3 separate regions of the Homo sapiens genome follow, and all the other regions are linked to region 2. The links are contacts of gene promoters, found by promoter capture Hi-C in blood cells and fetal thymus (Javierre and others, 2016). All regions are on one chromosome and are shown on one strand. Each heading gives the region's core, a stretch centred on a gene start or on the middle of the fragment in contact. The rest is flanking DNA. Distances are from core to core; before and after follow the strand shown.

What was found. Contacts are between HindIII fragments. The CHiCAGO score rates a contact against its expected background, and 5 or more counts as called.
Region 1: a contact is called between a fragment that was not itself captured here and the fragment with the promoter of INHBE in region 2, in 4 of 17 cell types (neutrophils, naive CD8 T cells, total CD8 T cells and 1 more). The highest score is 8.4, in neutrophils.
Region 3: a fragment that was not itself captured here is called in contact with the fragment with the promoter of INHBE in region 2 in 4 of 17 cell types (naive CD4 T cells, neutrophils, total CD8 T cells and 1 more); the score reaches 5.7 in naive CD4 T cells.

The regions. Positions count from the first base shown.
Region 1 is chr12:57,563,251-57,566,275 of GRCh38, forward strand. KIF5A (kinesin family member 5A) reads left to right here. Exons shown (of 29, transcript NM_004984.4): 2 at 189-276; 3 at 370-443; 4 at 858-962; 5 at 1,210-1,258; 6 at 1,668-1,723. Among named protein-coding and RNA genes, the nearest start is that of KIF5A, 15 kb to the left of the region's middle. RefSeq lists a silencer at 1-39. The HindIII fragment of the contact is 4,556 bases long and covers 1-3,025 here.
Region 2 is chr12:57,453,986-57,456,685 of GRCh38, forward strand. It overlaps INHBE (inhibin subunit beta E), which reads left to right and starts at 1,322. Exons shown (of 2, transcript NM_031479.5): 1 at 1,322-1,849; 2 at 2,109-2,700. The coding sequence starts at 1,552. RefSeq lists an enhancer at 1,001-1,295. The HindIII fragment of the contact is 16,061 bases long and covers 1-2,700 here.
Region 3 is chr12:57,525,159-57,528,184 of GRCh38, forward strand. MBD6 (methyl-CpG binding domain protein 6) reads left to right here. Exons shown (of 13, transcript NM_052897.4): 6 at 190-1,230; 7 at 1,408-2,069; 8 at 2,349-2,502; 9 at 2,690-2,859; 10 at 2,989-3,026. Among named protein-coding and RNA genes, the nearest start is that of MBD6, 3.8 kb to the left of the region's middle. The HindIII fragment of the contact is 1,043 bases long and covers 1,095-2,137 here.

The DNA.
Region 1 (3,025 bases), core at 314-2,813, 110 kb after region 2:
TGCCTCAGCCTCTTAAAATGATGGGATTACAGGTGTGAGCCACCACGCCCGGCCATTCTCCCACATTTCTGTTCATTAAGGGCATTGAAGAAAAGGGTGCCTTTCTCAGCTGCTGGAAGGAGGTTGTGGTATTTCTTTTCCCTCACATCCTGCCTGTTGACGTCTGATATCTTTTATTTTCATTCCAGGGGAAGCCATATGTTTTTGACCGTGTATTCCCCCCAAACACGACTCAAGAGCAAGTTTATCATGCATGTGCCATGCAGATTGTCAAAGGTAATAGATTTCTTTTTAGAATGTCTCTTCTCAGCACCCCATTTCCTACCCGACCTATCTCCACCAGTACTCTTTCTCTACTGTCTCTTCCAGATGTCCTTGCTGGCTACAATGGCACCATTTTTGCTTATGGACAGACATCCTCAGGGAAAACACATACCATGGAGGTGAGGGTTCTGGCTTTGGTGGTTGAGGGGCTAGGAGTGTTAATGGAAGATCAGGGAATCTCAGTGGGGGAAGGTCTAGGAATCAAGGATTGCCTGGTCCAGAGGCAGATAGATGAGTACAGAGGATGAACTGAAGGGCAATATTAGGGGAAGTTTAATGGAATCCCTCCAACCCACTGCAGTGGATCATCCTTTCCACTACTCCAGTCTTCTTTTGATCGGGAAAAGCAATGGAAGTCCAAAGGGCTACTCAATTATCTCCTTGCTCCTCTAAAAGGCAGACATGGTGGTGACCATCTCCTAACTTAGGATGTTCTTCTTATTGACTCTTGCCTTGGTGTTCACCTGCATACATCTGAGTTGTCTCATTCTCCCTGAGCCCCAGCTTCACTCTCAAATACCTTCACTCGCCAGGGAAAGCTGCACGACCCTCAGCTGATGGGAATCATTCCTCGAATTGCCCGAGACATCTTCAACCACATCTACTCCATGGATGAGAACCTTGAGTTCCACATCAAGGTGACCAGGGCACGACAGCTGGGCATTCAGATGGGGACTGGGAGGGGAAGATCTAAAATCTTCCCACTGAAGAGCCTGGGCTCCCCAACTTGACTCCCTTTCCGGTTACCAGAGTTCTTTGTCAAGATGTTCTCTTCTGTTCTTTTCCTCCCACCACCGTTTGAGCAGGTCACATTAGTATGGGATTCCTGAACTAGATTTAAGATAGGCCCTCTTTACTTCACACTCCTTCTTTCTTCTTAACCAGGTTTCTTACTTTGAAATTTACCTGGACAAAATTCGTGACCTTCTGGATGGTGAGTGTTTTGTCCCAGTGGATGAGGGTGTGTGAGGAGGGTGGAGAAAAGAAAGCTCACATTGCATTTGGAATTAGGTACCAATTGACAAGAGATGCAGAGGGCACACAGCACCCAAGTCTTTTGGCCCCGTTTACCAGAATTTCCAAAAACTGAGAAGGTCAGGAGATGAGCTTAGCAGCCAAGGACTACATATAAACAGTTCGAGAGGATCTGGGGCCGAGGAGCAGGAGCCCTGAGGAGGAGAAGGAGGAGGAACTGAGCCTTCAGCTCGTGCAGGGAGTTTAGGCTTCACAGGGAGAGTCTTCCTTTAGCACAGAGAAGAAAACCACCATCTGAGCTGACTGCAAGGTGCAGATGGGGGCGGTGGAAGTACTAGTCTTGCTTACCCTGCATTCTTTTGATTCAGTGACCAAGACAAATCTGTCCGTGCACGAGGACAAGAACCGGGTGCCATTTGTCAAGGTGAGAGTGGGTGTGGGGCACCTATGTGGGGCCAGTGTATTGAGAATGTTGGTGGGGGAGGAGCATAGGTCAGTGACCCTGAAGTTGGAGGGTGGATATCCTGGAGGAATGAGATGTGCCTAGGGGCCAGGGAGAGTCTAGGGGATCAGAAAAGATACTGTCTTGGCTGGGCATGGTGGCTCATACCTGTAATCCCAGCACTTTGGGAGGCTGAGGTGGGTGGATCACTTGAGGCCGGGAGTTCAAGACCAGCCTGGCCAATATAGTGAAACCCCGTTTCTACTAAAAATACAAAAAATTAACTGGGCGTGGTGGCACATGCTTGTAATCCCAGCTATTTGGGACACTGAAGCAGGAGAATCTCTTGAACCTGGGAGGCAGAGGTTGCGGTGAGCCGAGATTGCGCCACTGCACTCCAGCCTGGGCGACAGAGTGAGAACCTGTCTTTAAAAAAAAAGAAGAAAAGAAAAGATACTGTCTTGAAAGGTCATTGGTCAGTGTGCATGCAATTTAATTTGCAAATCAAAGTTTACTGGAAGAAATGCCTGTAATCCCAACACTTTAGAAGGCTGAGGTGGGAGGATCACTTGAGGAGTTCAAGATCAGCCTGGCCAACATAGCAAGACCCGTCTCTCTTATTTAATCTAATTTTTTTTTTTTTTTTTTTTGGAGACAGAGTCTCACTCTGTTGCCCAGGCTGGAGTGCAGTGGCTCGACCTAGGGTCACTGCAACCTCCCTGTCCTGGGTTCAAACGATTCTCCTGCGTCAGGCTCCCGAGTAGCTGGGACTACAGGCATGTGCCACCACGCCTGGCTGATTTTAGTATTTTTAGTAGAGACGGGGTTTCACCATGTTGGCCAGGCTGGTCTCTAATTCCTGACCTCAGGTGATCCACCTGCCTCAGCCTCCCAAAGTGCTGGAATTACAGGCATGAGCCACTATGCTGAGTCTCTTGTTTAAAAAAAAAAAAAAATTTTTGTCAGGCATGGTGGCACACACCTGTAGTCCCAGCTACTCAGGAGGCTGAGGCGGGAGAATTGCTTGAGCTCAAGAGTTTGAGGTTGCAGTGAGCCATGATAGTGCCACTGCACTCCAGCCTGTGTAGTAGAGAGACAGTGGTTTTTTTTGTTTGTTTGTTTTTGTTTTTGGAGACAGATTCTCACTCTGTCACCCAGGCTGTAGTGCAATGGCATGATCTTGGCTCACTGCAACCTCTGCCTCCTGGGTTCAAGTGATTCTCCTGCCTCAGCCTCCCAAGCATATGGGATTATAGGTGCCTGCCACCAGGCCCACTTATTTTT
Region 2 (2,700 bases), core at 72-2,571:
AAAAAATAAAATAAAATAAAATAAAATAAAGACAGTGAGAAAATGTGGTCAGGAGGGCTGAGACTGGGAACCAAGACTGCTGTATTTGCCTTGCTTTGTTGTCAAAAGCTCTTAGAGCTCCCATTTTCTACCCCCATTAACAGGCCTGAAGGGTGGTGCGGTGGCTCACGCCTGTAACCTCAGCACTTTAGGAGGCTGAGGCAAGTGGATTGCTTGAGCCCAGGAGTTCAAGACCAGCCTGGGCAACATAGCGAGACCCTGTCTCTGTGGGAAATTTAAAAATTAGCCAGGTGTGGTGGTGCGCACCTGTAGTCCCAACTACTAAGGAGGCTGAGGCAGAAGGATTGTCTGAGCCCAGGAATTCAAGGCTGCAGTGAGCTATGATTGTGCCACTACACTCCAGCCTGAACAACAGATTGAGACCTTACCTCAGTAAAATAAAATAAAATTTAAATTTTAAAAATGTAAGAAAAAAAGGAGGCCTGGCACTACTTCTAGGATGCCCCAAATTTAGGCAACTCTCACAGTCCCTTGAAAGAGAAGTGGCAGCTGGGTATAGGCCCTCCCAAGTGTCATGCCCCCTGACAGTCCTGATGGACTCTGCCCTGTGTAAGATTGCATCACCACCACCACCACCTCTCTGGGCTTCCCCAGACATCACAGGAACACGTTCCCCGCCCCAACCCCCGCCGGCTCTGGCCCTCCTCCACATCATGCTCCACATCATGCTCCAGGCCAACTGGACTCTGGGCGGCCAGCACAGGCAGGGTCAGGGGGTGACTTCTGTGCCTCGTGGCACTGCCACCTGGGCCTGAGCAAGAGGGCTCCATTCTCCTACCCGCCCAAACCCTCATCCCTGTCCTAGCCCCAGTGCTAGAAATAAAGAGACCAGAATTTTCCTTCTGGCCTAAGGGCCCCAGAGGAATACCCACTGGAACTCACAGCTGCCTCATGGAAACTGCTGCAGCAGTGGTGAAGCTAGAAAGACTAGAGGTATGAGGGAAAATTGCCCTTCCCCACCTGGCTCATAAGGCGTTCCCTCCCCCAAGTCCCAGACCTTGGGGACTGAGCATGTGAAATCATCCTCTTTCTTGCATCATGCGTGTCCACATTGCACCCCCCCACCCCCATACCCCTACTTCAGGCCCAGTCACCATGGCCAGATGGTGAAACCTGAGCTGATGGGGAGGAGGACCTCCACCCCCTGCAGGGGCCTGATGGGCAGCACAGCTGGCCAATCCTGGGACTCAGAGGGTAGGTCGGCTGGCTGACCACTAGGTTTGGAAGACCCAGGCAGCTGGCTCTAAAGAGGCCCCAGGTCAGTAGCCAGACATGAGCTGTGAGGGTCAAGCACAGCTATCCATCAGATGATCTACTTTCAGCCTTCCTGAGTCCCAGACAATAGAAGACAGGTGGCTGTACCCTTGGCCAAGGGTAGGTGTGGCAGTGGTGTCTGCTGTCACTGTGCCCTCATTGGCCCCCAGCAATCAGACTCAACAGACGGAGCAACTGCCATCCGAGGCTCCTGAACCAGGGCCATTCACCAGGAGCATGCGGCTCCCTGATGTCCAGCTCTGGCTGGTGCTGCTGTGGGCACTGGTGCGAGCACAGGGGACAGGGTCTGTGTGTCCCTCCTGTGGGGGCTCCAAACTGGCACCCCAAGCAGAACGAGCTCTGGTGCTGGAGCTAGCCAAGCAGCAAATCCTGGATGGGTTGCACCTGACCAGTCGTCCCAGAATAACTCATCCTCCACCCCAGGCAGCGCTGACCAGAGCCCTCCGGAGACTACAGCCAGGGAGTGTGGCTCCAGGGAATGGGGAGGAGGTCATCAGCTTTGCTACTGTCACAGGTGGGTGAGGGAGAGAGCAACAGGCAAAGAGCAGACAGGGAAAGGGAGGCAGAAGGGGAGCCTGGCAGGAGCAGCAGAGGGAGTGGGGTGTGGCAGGAGAAGGAGGAGCTGGGGCAGGGACTGGTTGCAGAGGACACAAAGCAGTCTCTACTTTTCTAGAGGTAGGTTCGAGGGAGAGCAGTGGGCAGGGCTTGGGGAGTCTCAGAGGAGAGCTTCATCTCTACTCACATTTTCTTTCCCTTTTCTGTCTTTCGGGCAGACTCCACTTCAGCCTACAGCTCCCTGCTCACTTTTCACCTGTCCACTCCTCGGTCCCACCACCTGTACCATGCCCGCCTGTGGCTGCACGTGCTCCCCACCCTTCCTGGCACTCTTTGCTTGAGGATCTTCCGATGGGGACCAAGGAGGAGGCGCCAAGGGTCCCGCACTCTCCTGGCTGAGCACCACATCACCAACCTGGGCTGGCATACCTTAACTCTGCCCTCTAGTGGCTTGAGGGGTGAGAAGTCTGGTGTCCTGAAACTGCAACTAGACTGCAGACCCCTAGAAGGCAACAGCACAGTTACTGGACAACCGAGGCGGCTCTTGGACACAGCAGGACACCAGCAGCCCTTCCTAGAGCTTAAGATCCGAGCCAATGAGCCTGGAGCAGGCCGGGCCAGGAGGAGGACCCCCACCTGTGAGCCTGCGACCCCCTTATGTTGCAGGCGAGACCATTACGTAGACTTCCAGGAACTGGGATGGCGGGACTGGATACTGCAGCCCGAGGGGTACCAGCTGAATTACTGCAGTGGGCAGTGCCCTCCCCACCTGGCTGGCAGCCCAGGCATTGCTGCCTCTTTCCATTCTGC
Region 3 (3,026 bases), core at 366-2,865, 71 kb after region 2:
GGCTTGGAAGGCTGGTGGTGGGAGGAGTTCCTTGAGAGGGAGCAAAGAGAAAGGGGAGTGGGTGGGGAGCTGCATGTTGAAAGGAGGGCACAGGGAGGTTGGGAACTTGTGGGAGATGGGACTAGAGAAGACAAAAGAGTTTTTGGAAGGGGAGCCACAGGCTGACCCTTCATTTTTCATTTATTGCAGGAGAGGGAGCGAGCCCCCAAATGTTCCACACTGTGTCCCCAGGGCCCCCCTCTGCCCGCCCTCCCTGTCGAGTTCCTCCTACAACTCCACTTAATGGGGGTCCTGGCTCCCTTCCCCCAGAACCACCCTCAGTTTCCCAGGCCTTTCCCACTCTAGCAGGCCCTGGGGGGCTTTTCCCCCCAAGGCTTGCTGACCCAGTCCCTTCTGGGGGCAGTAGCAGCCCCCGTTTCCTCCCAAGGGGCAATGCCCCCTCTCCAGCCCCACCTCCTCCACCTGCTATCAGCCTCAATGCTCCCTCATACAACTGGGGAGCTGCCCTCAGATCCAGCCTGGTGCCCTCTGACCTGGGCTCTCCTCCGGCCCCTCATGCCTCCTCCTCACCACCTTCAGACCCTCCTCTCTTCCACTGTAGTGATGCCTTAACACCCCCTCCCCTGCCCCCGAGCAATAATCTCCCCGCCCACCCTGGTCCTGCCTCTCAGCCACCAGTGTCTTCAGCCACTATGCACCTGCCCCTGGTCCTGGGGCCCCTGGGAGGGGCCCCCACGGTGGAGGGGCCTGGGGCACCCCCCTTCCTTGCTAGCAGCCTACTCTCTGCAGCGGCCAAGGCACAGCATCCCCCACTACCCCCTCCCAGCACTTTACAGGGCCGAAGGCCCCGTGCCCAGGCACCCTCAGCTTCCCACTCCTCATCACTTCGTCCCTCTCAGCGTCGTCCCCGCAGACCCCCTACTGTATTTCGATTGCTAGAAGGGAGAGGCCCTCAAACCCCTAGACGGAGCCGTCCTCGGGCCCCTGCTCCTGTCCCCCAACCCTTTTCTCTCCCGGAGCCATCCCAACCAATTCTCCCTTCTGTGCTGTCCCTGCTGGGACTCCCCACCCCTGGCCCTTCCCACTCTGATGGAAGCTTTAACCTTTTGGGGTCAGATGCACACCTTCCTCCTCCCCCAACCCTCTCCTCAGGGAGCCCTCCCCAGCCCAGGCACCCCATCCAGCCCTCCCTGCCTGGGACCACCAGTGGCAGCCTCAGCAGTGTGCCAGGTATGTGAGTATTGTGGAGCCCTTCCTCATCCTGGCTGGAAAGAGGCAGCCAAGGCATTTAGGGGAATGTTCAGAGAGCTCTTTGAGGGTTTTCTGGGTTGGGGGCAGGGAGGTTGGCTTCTTTGGATGATGGGAGAAAGGGCCTCCCTTGAGCTGAATTTCTCTCCTCTTTTACAGGTGCCCCTGCCCCACCAGCTGCCTCCAAAGCCCCAGTAGTCCCCAGCCCTGTGCTTCAAAGCCCATCCGAAGGACTGGGGATGGGGGCAGGCCCGGCCTGCCCTCTGCCTCCCCTGGCTGGTGGAGAGGCTTTCCCTTTCCCCAGCCCTGAGCAGGGCCTGGCACTGAGTGGAGCTGGCTTCCCTGGGATGCTTGGGGCCTTGCCTCTCCCTCTGAGTCTGGGGCAGCCTCCACCTTCTCCATTGCTCAACCACAGTTTATTTGGTGTGCTGACTGGGGGAGGAGGACAACCTCCCCCTGAGCCCCTGCTACCCCCACCAGGAGGACCTGGTCCTCCCCTAGCCCCAGGAGAGCCTGAAGGGCCTTCGCTTTTGGTGGCTTCCTTGCTTCCTCCACCACCCTCAGACCTTCTTCCACCTCCTTCAGCACCTCCCAGCAACCTCCTTGCCTCTTTCCTGCCCCTGTTGGCTCTGGGCCCCACAGCTGGGGATGGGGAGGGATCTGCAGAGGGAGCCGGGGGTCCAAGTGGGGAGCCATTTTCAGGCTTGGGAGACCTGTCCCCCCTACTTTTCCCCCCACTTTCAGCCCCCCCTACCCTCATAGCTTTAAATTCTGCGCTGCTGGCTGCCACCCTGGATCCCCCCTCGGGGACACCCCCCCAGGTGAGGATGGGGGTGAGTAGGTGGGACAGAACAAGATGTAGAATAAGAGATGGGAGCTGGGAATCAAAAGCTTTCAGTTTCATTCCTGAGCTCTTCCTTGGGGCCTTTGGGGAGGCCTTAGTTCTTGGCTGGGGGTAGGATGACTGCAAGAATTGGGTCTGTATTTAATAAGCATGGCCTATCTCACTTGAGGCTTCAGTCAGATAGTGGATGTGAAAGCACTATAAATCTGTTGAGTATTTTACACGCGTAAGTGTTAGAATCATTCTTTTTTCTTAGCCCTGTGTCCTGAGTGCCCCCCAACCTGGACCACCTACCTCCAGTGTCACCACGGCAACTACTGACCCGGGGGCCTCCTCTCTGGGCAAGGCCCCCTCCAACTCAGGGAGACCCCCCCAACTCCTTAGCCCTCTGCTGGGTGCCAGCCTGCTGGGTGAGTCTGAGGGAGTGTGAATTCACACTCTTGGTGTGAAAAAGCAGGAGTAAAACTTGGGAGTAGTGGCTGAATAAATTGGGGAAGAAAGTCTTTGGCCACTGGATAAAGCCTAAAGAGAATAGTAGGTCTGCTCAGCCTAATTGGTTTGCCTAGGGAGAGACCCCTGACTATAATTTCTCAACAGGTGACCTGTCTTCACTGACCAGCAGCCCTGGAGCCCTCCCCAGCCTGTTGCAGCCTCCTGGCCCTCTTCTCTCTGGCCAGTTGGGGCTGCAGCTCCTCCCTGGGGGGGGAGCTCCTCCACCCCTCTCAGAGGCTTCTAGTCCCCTAGCCTGCCTGCTACAGAGTCTCCAGGTGAGGGTGTGGGCATATATTTGTCAGGGAGATAATTTTTTCTCAAACTGGAAATTTAGGGCTTTCTGAGTTATAGTAGAAGAGGGACGGTATTTGAGATTGACTGAGAACTTATTTTTTTGCCAGCAGATCCCTCCAGAGCAGCCAGAAGCCCCCTGTCTACCCCC